2 separate regions of the Homo sapiens genome follow, and region 1 is linked to region 2. Evidence: promoter capture Hi-C in human tissues and cell types (Jung and others, 2019). All regions are on one chromosome and are shown on one strand. The core of a region is centred on a gene start or on the middle of the fragment in contact, and the rest is flanking DNA. Distances in the headings are between cores, read along the strand shown.

Evidence for each region. The method cuts DNA at HindIII sites, captures the fragments that hold promoters and counts their contacts. A contact is called where the count stands out against the background at its distance.
Region 1: a fragment that was not itself captured here is called in contact with the fragment with the promoter of ID3 in region 2 in 1 of the 25 tissues and cell types used here (dorsolateral prefrontal cortex).

What each region holds. Positions count from the first base shown.
Region 1 is chr1:22,046,221-22,051,698 of GRCh38, forward strand. No RefSeq gene overlaps it. Among named protein-coding and RNA genes, the nearest start is that of CDC42, 3.7 kb to the right of the region's middle. The HindIII fragment of the contact is 4,522 bases long and covers 999-5,478 here.
Region 2 is chr1:23,558,251-23,563,069 of GRCh38, forward strand. It overlaps ID3 (inhibitor of DNA binding 3), which reads right to left and starts at 1,251. Exons shown (of 3, transcript NM_002167.5): 1 at 877-1,251; 2 at 685-769; 3 at 1-165. The coding sequence starts at 1,176. The coding sequence ends at 710. The region is part of intron 2 of LOC124903876 (a long non-coding RNA gene); the gene reads left to right. RefSeq lists an enhancer at 121-250 and silencers at 1,191-1,450, 1,318-1,564. The HindIII fragment of the contact is 6,582 bases long and covers 1-4,079 here.

The DNA of each region.
Region 1 (5,478 bases), core at 2,010-4,509, 1.5 Mb before region 2:
TATTATATATAATTTATATATTATGTATGATTATATAATATATAATTTATATATTATATATAGACCATTCTATATGTATATATAACCACTCTCTATATAGAGAATGGTTTTATTTTTATTATTATTTCGAGATGGAGTCTCCCTCTGTCGCCCAGGCTGGAGTGCAGTTGTTCGATCTCGGCTCACTGCAACCTCCACCTCCTGGGCTCAAATGATTCTCCTGCCTCAGCCTCCCAAGTAGCTGAGATTACAAGCACGCATCACTACACACAGCTAATTTTGTATTTTTAGTAGATATGAGGTTTCACCATGTTGGCCAGGCTGGTCTCGAACTCCTGACCTCAAGTGTTCCACCCGCCTTGGCCTCCCAGAGTGCTGGGATTACAGGTGTGAGGCACTGCACATGGCCAGAATGGTTTTATATGTAATATATAAATAATATATATTACCATTCTATTGGTTCTGTTTCTCTGGAGAACTATGACTAATACAAAAAGAAAGGGAAATCACTTTGGAAAGGCAAAGATCATAGAGGACATAGAATGTCTGGGTAAAGTCTTAAATTTTTTTTTTTTTTTTTGAGATGGAGTCTCTCTCTGTCACCCAGGCACTGCAACCTCCACCTCCTAGATTGAAGCGATTCTCCTGCCTCAGCCTCCTGAGTAGCTGGGATTACATGCATGCACCAACATACCCAGCCAATTTTTGTATTTTTAGTAGAGATGGGGTTTCACCATGTTGGTCAAGCTGGTTTCAAACTCCTGACCTCATGATCTGCCCACCTCGGCCTCCCAAAGTGCTGGGATTACAGGTCTGAGTCACTGTACCCAACCAAAGGTCTTAAATTTTATTCTGAAGACAAAGGAGAAAACACTGAAGGTTTCTGAGTAAGGGAGTGACCTAATCAGAGCGATGATATAGGAAGATAAATGCTGTGCTTTGTCAAATGAGTTAAAGTAGAGATTCTTTTTTTTTTTTTTTTTTTTTGAGACGGAGTCTTGCTCTGTGGCCAGGCTGGAGTGCAGTGGTGCGATCTCTGCTCACTGAAACCTCCGCCTTCCGGGTTCAAGCGATTCCCCTGCCTCAGCCTCCTGAGTAGCTAGGACTACAGGTGAGCGCCACTATACCCAGCTAATTTTTTGTATTTTAGTAGAGACAGGGTTTCACCATGTTGGCCACAATGGTCTTGATCTCCTGACCTCGTGATCCTCCCGCCTTGGCCTCCCAAAGTGCTGGGATTAGAGGCGTGAGCCACCGCACCCAGCTGAGATTCTTTTTATTTATTTTTTTGAGACAGGGTCTTGCTTTGTCACCCAGGCTGGAGTGCAGTGTAGTGCACTGGCATGATCATGGCTCACTGCAGCCTCAACATCGCAGGCTCAAGCGACCCTCACATCTCAGCCTCCCCAAGTAGCTGGGACTACAGGTGCTTGCCACCACACGGTTTTTATATTTCTTGTAGAGATGAGGTCTCAGTATGTTGCCCAGCCTGGTCTCAAACTCCTGGGTTCAAGTGATCCTCCCGCTTCAGCCTCCCAAAGTGTTGGGATTATAGGCATGAGCCACCATGCCTGGACTAAAGCAGAGAGCTTGAAGGGAGCCTCTAGAAATTAGATATGAATTTTGTGGGTATAGGATCTGTGATGCAGAAAAGGTTGAGAACTCCTGGATATACAAGGCTGTAGGGGCCAAAAGCAGACATAGGTGCTTAGACCCTGGAGTAGGTGGGAGCTGGAAGATGATTTTGATGGTGCTGAGTAGCTGGAAATTTGAAAATGGGGGTAGGATGCCGGGCGCGGTGGCTCACGCCTGTAATCCCAGCACTTTGGGAGGCTGAGGCGGGTGGATCGCCTGTAGTCAGGAGTTTGAGACCAGCCTGGCCAACATGGTGAAACCCCATCTCTACTAAAAAATACAAAAATTAGCTGGGCATGGTAGCAGTTGCCTGCAATCCCAGCTACTCGGGAGGCTGAGGCAGGAGAATCACTTGAACCTGGGAGGGGAGGTTGCAGTGAGCTGAGATCGCACCATTGCACTCCAGCCTGGTTGACAGAGTGAGACTCTGTCTCAAAAAAAAAAAAAAAAAAAAAAAAATTGGGGGTGGGAATAGGGGTTGGAAGAGGTATAGATTTGGGAGTTATTACCTAGAGGGTAGGGACAAGTACCTCATGGGCAGACAAGCAGGGCAGGGGTGGCAGTGATTCATCAAGAGTTTGGCAGTCATAAGCAACAGAAACCTACTCAACCTCGTTCAGGCAATAGAGGGAATTTATTGCTAATGTGACTGAAGATTGAAGCAAGACTGGATCTGATGTCTCATGCAATGCCACTGGGACTTGGTTTCATGTCTCCATCTCTCAGTTCTGTTTCCCCCTCTGTCTTGGTCTCATTCTCAGGCAGCATCTCTGCTTGCAGTGGGAAGCTGGCTGCCAGCAGTGCCACGATTACATCCTACTCTCAGCAAACAGAGATTCACTGAACTGAATAGTTGTGACCAAAGTTCCAGAATTAAATCTCATTGGGTCACATGCCTGTTGCTGAAATGGTGTGGCAACAGGGCTCTCTATAATGCTGTGATTGGCCAAGCCTGGGTCACGTGTCCATTCCCGCAACTAGAGATAGTGTCATCTCTAGAGCCACATGGATTGAGAGTTGGGGCAGGGGCTGCTCTAGGAGAAATGGAAGTGCTGTTACCAGAAGGAAGAATGGACACCGGAATGGTAGCCACCGGGAAGGGAGCCGGAGTCCCACAGGCTGTCCCTCCTGTTAACATGAGGCAGCTATAGCAGTGGGGCAGTAGCGGGGAGGCACTAGGAGGCTGGGGGCTGGGCCAGCAGTGAGGGACATGGTAGATTGGGTCAAGTAATAGTAACACCATTGCCACTGCTGTTTGGGGCTGTGAAAAGGTCTAGGAGGGTTCTTCTGACAAAAAACCTGACAACATAAAAGACATAGTGCTAAGTAAGTCCTTGTCCTCAGAATAAAGGCAGGAAAAGCTGAACAGTTGGGTGACACCCCATCAAGATATTGCTGCTACTGGAAAGGGCAGACGTTGTCTGGGGACATTCATGGGATTGTGAGACAGGATGAAGGAAAGGGCACTGCCAGCTGGACTTGTGAAGGGAAGAAACAACCATTTTCCCCTCAAGTTTAAAAAATGAAGCTTATGCATTTTTACAATAGTAATAAATTCACAATAGCCCAAAACAACCCAAATTCCAACAGTAGGAGTCTGGGTAAATATTGCAATGCCCGGAGAGTAAAATGCAGCCTTTACAAATGATGCTTTATTTGACATGGAAAGATGTTCACAATGTAGTTTTTTTGTTTTGTTTTGTTTTTGTATTTTTTGTAGAGATGGGTGGGGGCAGGTCTTGCTATGTTGCCCAGACTGGTCTTGAACTCCTGGGCTCAAGTGATCCACCCGCCTCGGCCTCCCAAAGTGTTAGGATTATAGGTGTGAGCCACATTAGAGGTAGGACTACAGCTGAAGCTTATCTTCCTGTTTTTTTTTTTTAGGTGGGGTTTTGTTCTTGTTGCCCAGGCTAGAGTGCAATGGCGCAATCTCGGCTCACTGCAACCTCTGCCTCCCAGGTTCCAGCGATTCTCCTGTCTCAGCCTCCCGAGTAGCTGCGAATACAAGTGCATGCCACACCCAGCTAATTTTTGTATTTTTAGTAGAGAAAGGGTTTCACCATGTTGGTCAGGCTAGTCTTGAACTCCTGACCTCAAGTGATCCGCCCACCTCGGCCTCCCGGAGTGCTGGAATTACAGGCGTGAGCCACCGCACCTGGCTTTTTTTTTTTTTTTTTTTTGAGACAGAGTTTCACTTTTTTGTCGCCTAGGCTGGAGTGCAATGGCATGATCTCGGGGTCACTGCAACCTCCGCCTCCTGGATTCAAATGATTCTCCTGCCTCAGCCTCCCAAGTAGCTGGGATTACAGGCACCTGCCACCACACCGAGCAAATTTTTGTGTGTGTGTTTTTTAGTACAGATGGGGTTTTACCATGTTGGTCAGGCTGGTCTTCAACTCCTGACCTCAGGTGATCCACCAGCCTCAGCCTCACAAAGTGCTGGGATTACAGATGTGAGCCACTGTGCCTGGCCTGAAGCTTATCTTCTAATTTCTCTATAATAAACCTGCTTGATAGTGTGGTAGTGTCATAGTCAACTAGAGCCAGCCTCCTGAGTGCAAGTCTCAGCTCTGCCACTGCTTGGCATGGCGGCTATGGACAAGTCTCTTAACACCTCTGAGCTTCAGTTCATGTAACCATAAAGTGGGGGTAACAGTTCTTAACTCATAGGGTGGCTGTGAGTATTAAATTAGCTACTACTACCTGCAAAGCTATTAGCCATACCTGCAGTAAACACTAAAAAATGTAGTTCTTATTTTTGGGTAATTAAAAAATCCAAAAGAGGGCTGGGTGCGGTGGCTTACACCTGTAATCGCAGCCCTTTGGGAGGCCAAGGCAGGTGGATCACAAAGTCATGAGTTCAAGACCAGCTTGGCCAATATGGTGAAACCCCGTCTCTACTAAAAATACAAAAATTAGCTGGGCATGGTGGTGGGCACCTGTAGTCTCAGCCACTTGGGAGGCTGAGGCAGGAGAATTGCTTGAACCCGGGAGGCGGAGATTGCAGTGAGCCGAGATCGAACCACTGCATTCCAGCCTGGGTGACAGAGCGAGACTCCGTCTCAAAAAAAAAAAAAAAATCCAAAAGAAAATATGACTATAAGTCAATATACTGGAATTAAGTGTCTTTGTTGGCCAAATAGCTGTGGCAGTAGACAATAAATGAGCTGTTATTAAGATAAGCAATTTTTTTTTATTTTTTTTGAGACAGAGTCTCGCTCTGTTGCCCAGGCTGGAGTGCAGTGGCGCGATCTTGGCTCACTGCAAGCTCCGCCTCCCGGGTTCACGCCATTCTCCTGCCTCAGCCTCTCGAGTAGCTATGACTACAGGAGCTCGCCACCACGCCCGGCTAATTTTTTTGTATTTTTAGTAGAGGCGGGGTTTCACCGTGTTAGCCAGGATGGTCTCGATCTCCTGACCTCGTGATCCGCCCGCCTTGGCCTCCCAAAGTGCTGCGATTACAGGCATGAGCCACCGTGCCCGGCCTAGGATAAGCAATTTAAGCGATTTTTCTCTAACATGGGGAAACATCTAAGAATAAGAGAGGGAAGTTCTCTATTTTCCTGAAGCTTTCATACTAGCAGAGAAGACAAATAATAGATACTGCGAAGATAGGATGATTGAAGAATGCAGTGATATAAATTTGGGGGAAGAGGAGGGAGGCAGAGCAAAGAAATTCAAGGCCTTGGCCAGACGTAATGTCTCACACCTTGTAATCCCAGCAGTTTGGGAGGCTGAGGCAGGCTGATAGCTTGTGTCCAGGAGTTCGAGACCAGCCTGGGCAATCCAGCAAAACCCTGTGTCTACAAAAAAATACAAAAATTAGCCAGGCATGGTGGCATG
Region 2 (4,819 bases), core at 1-2,500:
CCACAAGTTCACAGTCCTTCGCTCCTGAGCACCAGGTTTAGTCTCCAGGAAGGGATTTGGTGAAGTCAAGTGGGCAGGGCGAAGTTGGGGCCCATCCCTGCCGTCCGGCTTCCGGCAGGAGAGGTTCCCGGGGTCCCAGGCAGAACGGGCGCCAGCACCTGCGTTCTGGGCGGGGGAGGAAAGAAGACCAAGGAGCAGTCAGTTTCCGCCGAGCGTGCCGAGGCGGGGGCCGTCCGCAGACTGGCCGGCGCCAGGGAGGAAACTTGGTCTGTACCTCCAGCTGATAACTCCGCGCCCCACGCTGCCCCCACCCAGTTGGCGCCAAAGACCACAGGCGGAGCTTGCGCTACCCCTCCTACTTGGAATTGACACTAGCTGGGAGGGGGCTGCCGAAGACAGCTCCCTATACAACATGGAACAGAAAGACTTGTATTTAGTCGGACCCATGTCTACTTTGCCAGACCCTCGGCCACTGCGGGAGGGCAGGGCCCAGGCGCATTTAAGGCTTAAATGCACATCACATGGAAACTGACTCTGCCATTCATTTGATGCAACCATGGGCAAGTCACTTGTCCCTCTCTGGCCTCAGTTTCCCTAAACCGAGTGAGTGGCAATTTTTCAAAACGTCTGCCAACTCCAGGACTTGCCGTTTAAACCTCCCTCTCCAAGAGAGGAGATACTCACCTGGAGGTGTCAGGACACGGCCGAGTCAGTGGCAAAAGCTCCTTTTGTCGTTGGAGATGACAAGTTCCGGAGTGAGCTCGGCTGTCTGATTAGAGGAAAAGAGGGAAGAGTTACGCGAGGCAATCGGGAGCTCCGAGGGTCCCGCAGCATCCTTGCCTGGGTGTTCAGCCCTGTCCCGACTTCGAGGCTTACCTGGATGGGAAGGTGGGGGCCATCAGGGGGTCCAGGGGCTGGCTCGGCCAGGACTACCTGCAGGTCGAGAATGTAGTCGATGACGCGCTGTAGGATTTCCACCTGGCTAAGCTGAGTGCCTCTCGGGACTCCGGGTACCAGTTCCCGCAGGCGGGAGTAGCAGTGGTTCATGTCGTCCAGCAAGCTCAGCGGCTCCTCAGCTGCCGGGCCCTTCCCTCGGCCCCGGGCGATGGCCAGACTGCGTTCCGACAGGCAGCACACCGCCTCGTAGCAGCCGCGCACCGGGCTCAGCGCCTTCATGCTGGGGAGTGAGTCCAGAGGTGCCCCAAAGAGAAAGAAAACCAAAAGAAGTCCCGCTACAGTGACCTGCAACGCGCGCACGCTCGCCGCGGCGGTCACTTATAGAGCCTGCCTGGAAGGCACGCCTCTTTATTCAAAATGGCCCGCCTCGGCCCTGCCCCCGCCGGCCCTGGGCGTTCACAGCCCGCTTAAATTGCAAACAGGCTTCCTCCGGCTGGTCTGACGCCGAAGACCGCGGAGCCGCGGATTCAAAGAATGAGGAAGCGCTGATACCGGGGAGAGGCGGGCCTCTCCGCCAGCAAGGATTTAAAAATCACTCAAAACCATTAACTTCCAGAATTTGCTTTTTCCTGGCAGCACCCCAGATCTTTGAGCTTCCCTGCCCCCTGCCAGTCCGCCTTTAGCCCAACACTGGTTCGAGCCACAGCTCCTCCGAGGTCATAAATCCCTGAACAGCAAAGAAGCTCCCCCCACCCCCCGTTTTTTTTAAGCGAAAGATTTTTCAAGGGAAACTTGTAAGGAATTAGTGCCGCCTTGTTCCCCAATTTGCTGTTCGTCTGACCTCCAGACTCACTGGCGTCAGGAATTATCTTGTGACCAGAGGGAAAAAAAATTAATTGCGGTGAAGCTGAGGTTACAATGAAGAAAACAGATTTGCGCTAGGCGCTGAGATTGCAGAAGGAGGAGGGAAAGGGGGTTTGAGCAAAGAACACTATTTATTTGAGCAACAGGGGAAAAGAAGAAAGCTTGAGCCCATGCTTTTTGCATGGGGAAAAAAGGAGCCTGGACCCTCTGCCCCATAAACTCCATAACGAACTAAATATATGCACAGTTGTGCTTTGTGAGTTCAATTAGAATTTTGGACAAGGTTTTAAATATGGAGGCACAGATGGGACAATTTCTACATAAACCTTTTTAAGAGCCCCCCCCCACCCAATTGGGTCAGCAAATTTCTTAACTTCCCCTCTCTTCACTTTCCACACACCTCTGTGTAGAAAACAGTGGTAATTTCATTGCTCTATTGTCTGTCCCTTTCTGCTATGGAAGGGCAGGCCACCTGGACTTGATTATTCTTAGCCCTGCTGAAGTAGCTCCAGCTCCATCTGAAAGACCAGGAAAGGAACCAGAGGGCCGGCAAACTAAGTCCTGTATTGCAACAGGACACTGTGCTCAGTATTCTTTGATTCTTTGCTTGCCTTCTTGTCACCTCCCTAGACATTTGGGGACCTGCACTTCCAAGATGCTGCTTTCCATTTTGGAAATGACCAAGTGGGATTCCCCCAATAGTTGCTTTCCTAATGAATCATTGGTGAATATTTATGGAGTCCCTCCGCATAAAACAGTGGCTCCTGCTTTCAAGAATCTCACAATTTGGGGAGACAAGATTAACACAGGAAACAAGAGTTCGATAATGTGTGGCACTGATTAACAGGACAAGGGGGGCTCAGAGCCAAAGAGAGTCGCAAAACGGTTGAAAAGGACACTGACTGGGAATTGAGAGCCCTGGGTTCATCATGCTAGCCCTGACAATAATTTGTCATGTAATCTTGAACAAGCCCAGGTACTCTGGCTTTAATTGCCTTGTGAGTAAAATAGACGATGGTACTAAGTGATTATTTAAAATCCTTTCCAATTGTAGAAGTCCAAGGTTGTGTGAAATTTGGATATGTAGGTGAAAGATGCTGAGGGGCCCAAGGAAGGCATTTAAGACATGCCCAATGTCACACTACAAGTAATAGCAGAGCCAGTCTTGAAGCCTCGTTCTTTTCCATCAAACCACAGGGCTCTGTGGCCCAAGAAAGATTTCTTCCTGGAATGTTTTTTTCAAGGACAGGCTCTTCAGTAAGAAAAGAGGAAGAAAACCTGTGAGTGGGCAAGTCAGTCTTTACATGCTACAGCCGTCAAGTGCCAGCTATTTGGTCAGGAAAGGCAAAATAATGGCTGTAGGAACTCCTGAATAACCGAAGAGAAGATCCTTCTTTTCCTATCTTGCAGACTTCTGTGGCAAAACGGTCAAGTCCAGAGGGTTCTAGAAAAATCACGGGCCAGGCAGATTTCTGTGCAAATGCCCATTCTTCTTCTTCTTCTTCTTTTTTTGTTTAAACTAATTGTGTAGACTTTGGCTGAGTTATCCTGGGTGCTTCTATTTTCCCATCTATAAAATGGAACTAATTGGGTCTACTCATTCATTCATTCGATAATTATTGAATGCCTCTTCTCTGCAAAGCACTTGATGTGTTCACTCCATCTGATCTTAGTCTTCTTACTGCCTGGGGGACCCAGCATGGGCCAGTTGTGTGGAAGGTGCTCAGTCTACCCAGATTCTCCTCCCTTCTTTTCCTTCCTCTACTACTGCAGCTGATGCCTCAGGCTTGTATAGTGATTTAGGTTTGCAAAGCACCTTCGCATTTATTATTTCCCAGGATGCTTCCAGGCTGAAATGCCCATGGGCTGTGTGACATAAGGCAGAAGGATGCTGTGGAATTAGCAAGCAAAATTCTGTTCTGTGCATGCCAATAATTTGCAGTGTGCCCTTGGACGAATTTCCTCCCTTCCTGGGCTTCATTTTCTCTTTAAAAAAAAAAAAAAAAAAAAGATAGTGGGTAGGTTGGGAGGAAGCAAGTGCCCTTTAATGGTCCTCTCTAGCCTAAGATTCTAATTCTGAAAGAAGCAGGTTATGGTTAGGAACACTGAATAGTGTTTAAACCCAAGAGACTTCTTTTTCCCCACAGCAGACTGGACAGGCTAGCTCAGGCCTTCTGCAACTTGTTTAGCAGTGGTGGGGCCTCAGCCTCTTATTCCAAATGCCTCTGAACTTTCTGTTCCCAGTTCTGCTCCTTTTACCAGCTTTTTCCCCCCTCTTGCATTTTTTATTTTTATGAAAGGATGTCATTAAGGCTTTTGTCTGCGCTGTTTTTGTTTCAGAACTTTTCTCACAATCCTATTTTTTGTTGAGGAATCCGCTCCTTTGCCCAGCTGTGGGTCCCGGTCCCACAGCTGTGTTGATCTAAGACTCAGCCCCAGACAGCCTGGCGCCAGGGTGGGACGTCATGCGTTCACACAGGGATGCGTGTCCCAGGCAACCTTTCCTCGGGCAGTCACCGGCCGGCGACTGCCTCCCCCACCAATGAGCGCCGGACACCCGAGAAAGGGGCGGGGTCTGCATCGCCCCAACCGCGAGCGGCTTGTGAATTGCAGATGCTGAGAACTTGATAATGTTGCTTCAATTGGGGCCCTTTAAAGTCTTTTTTTTTCTTTCTCTTTTAGTTCTTTATTTTCTTTTGTCTATTCCCTTTCTTTCCACCTTCTTCCTTTATCTATATATGTGTATAATTTTTCTTCTTCTTTTTTCTAACTATCTCCTCCCAGTGTCAGGAATCATTTTGTAAGCATTTCCAGGAACTCAATCTTCCTCTGCCAAAATAAAAAAAAGAAAAAAAAATTCAATGTTGTGCTCTCTGATTTTTTTTTTTTTGAGAAGTTGGCAGAACTCTTTAAGTTATACTGTTTTGTTTTTTAAAAAATTTTAGAATTTTTTAATTTCGTGGTAGTGGGCTCTCTAAATTGTTGATTTCAAAGTCAAAGTAATGATGACAAGGATTGCAGATGCCTTTTTGTCTAAGCTGAGCCTCTATTTATTATC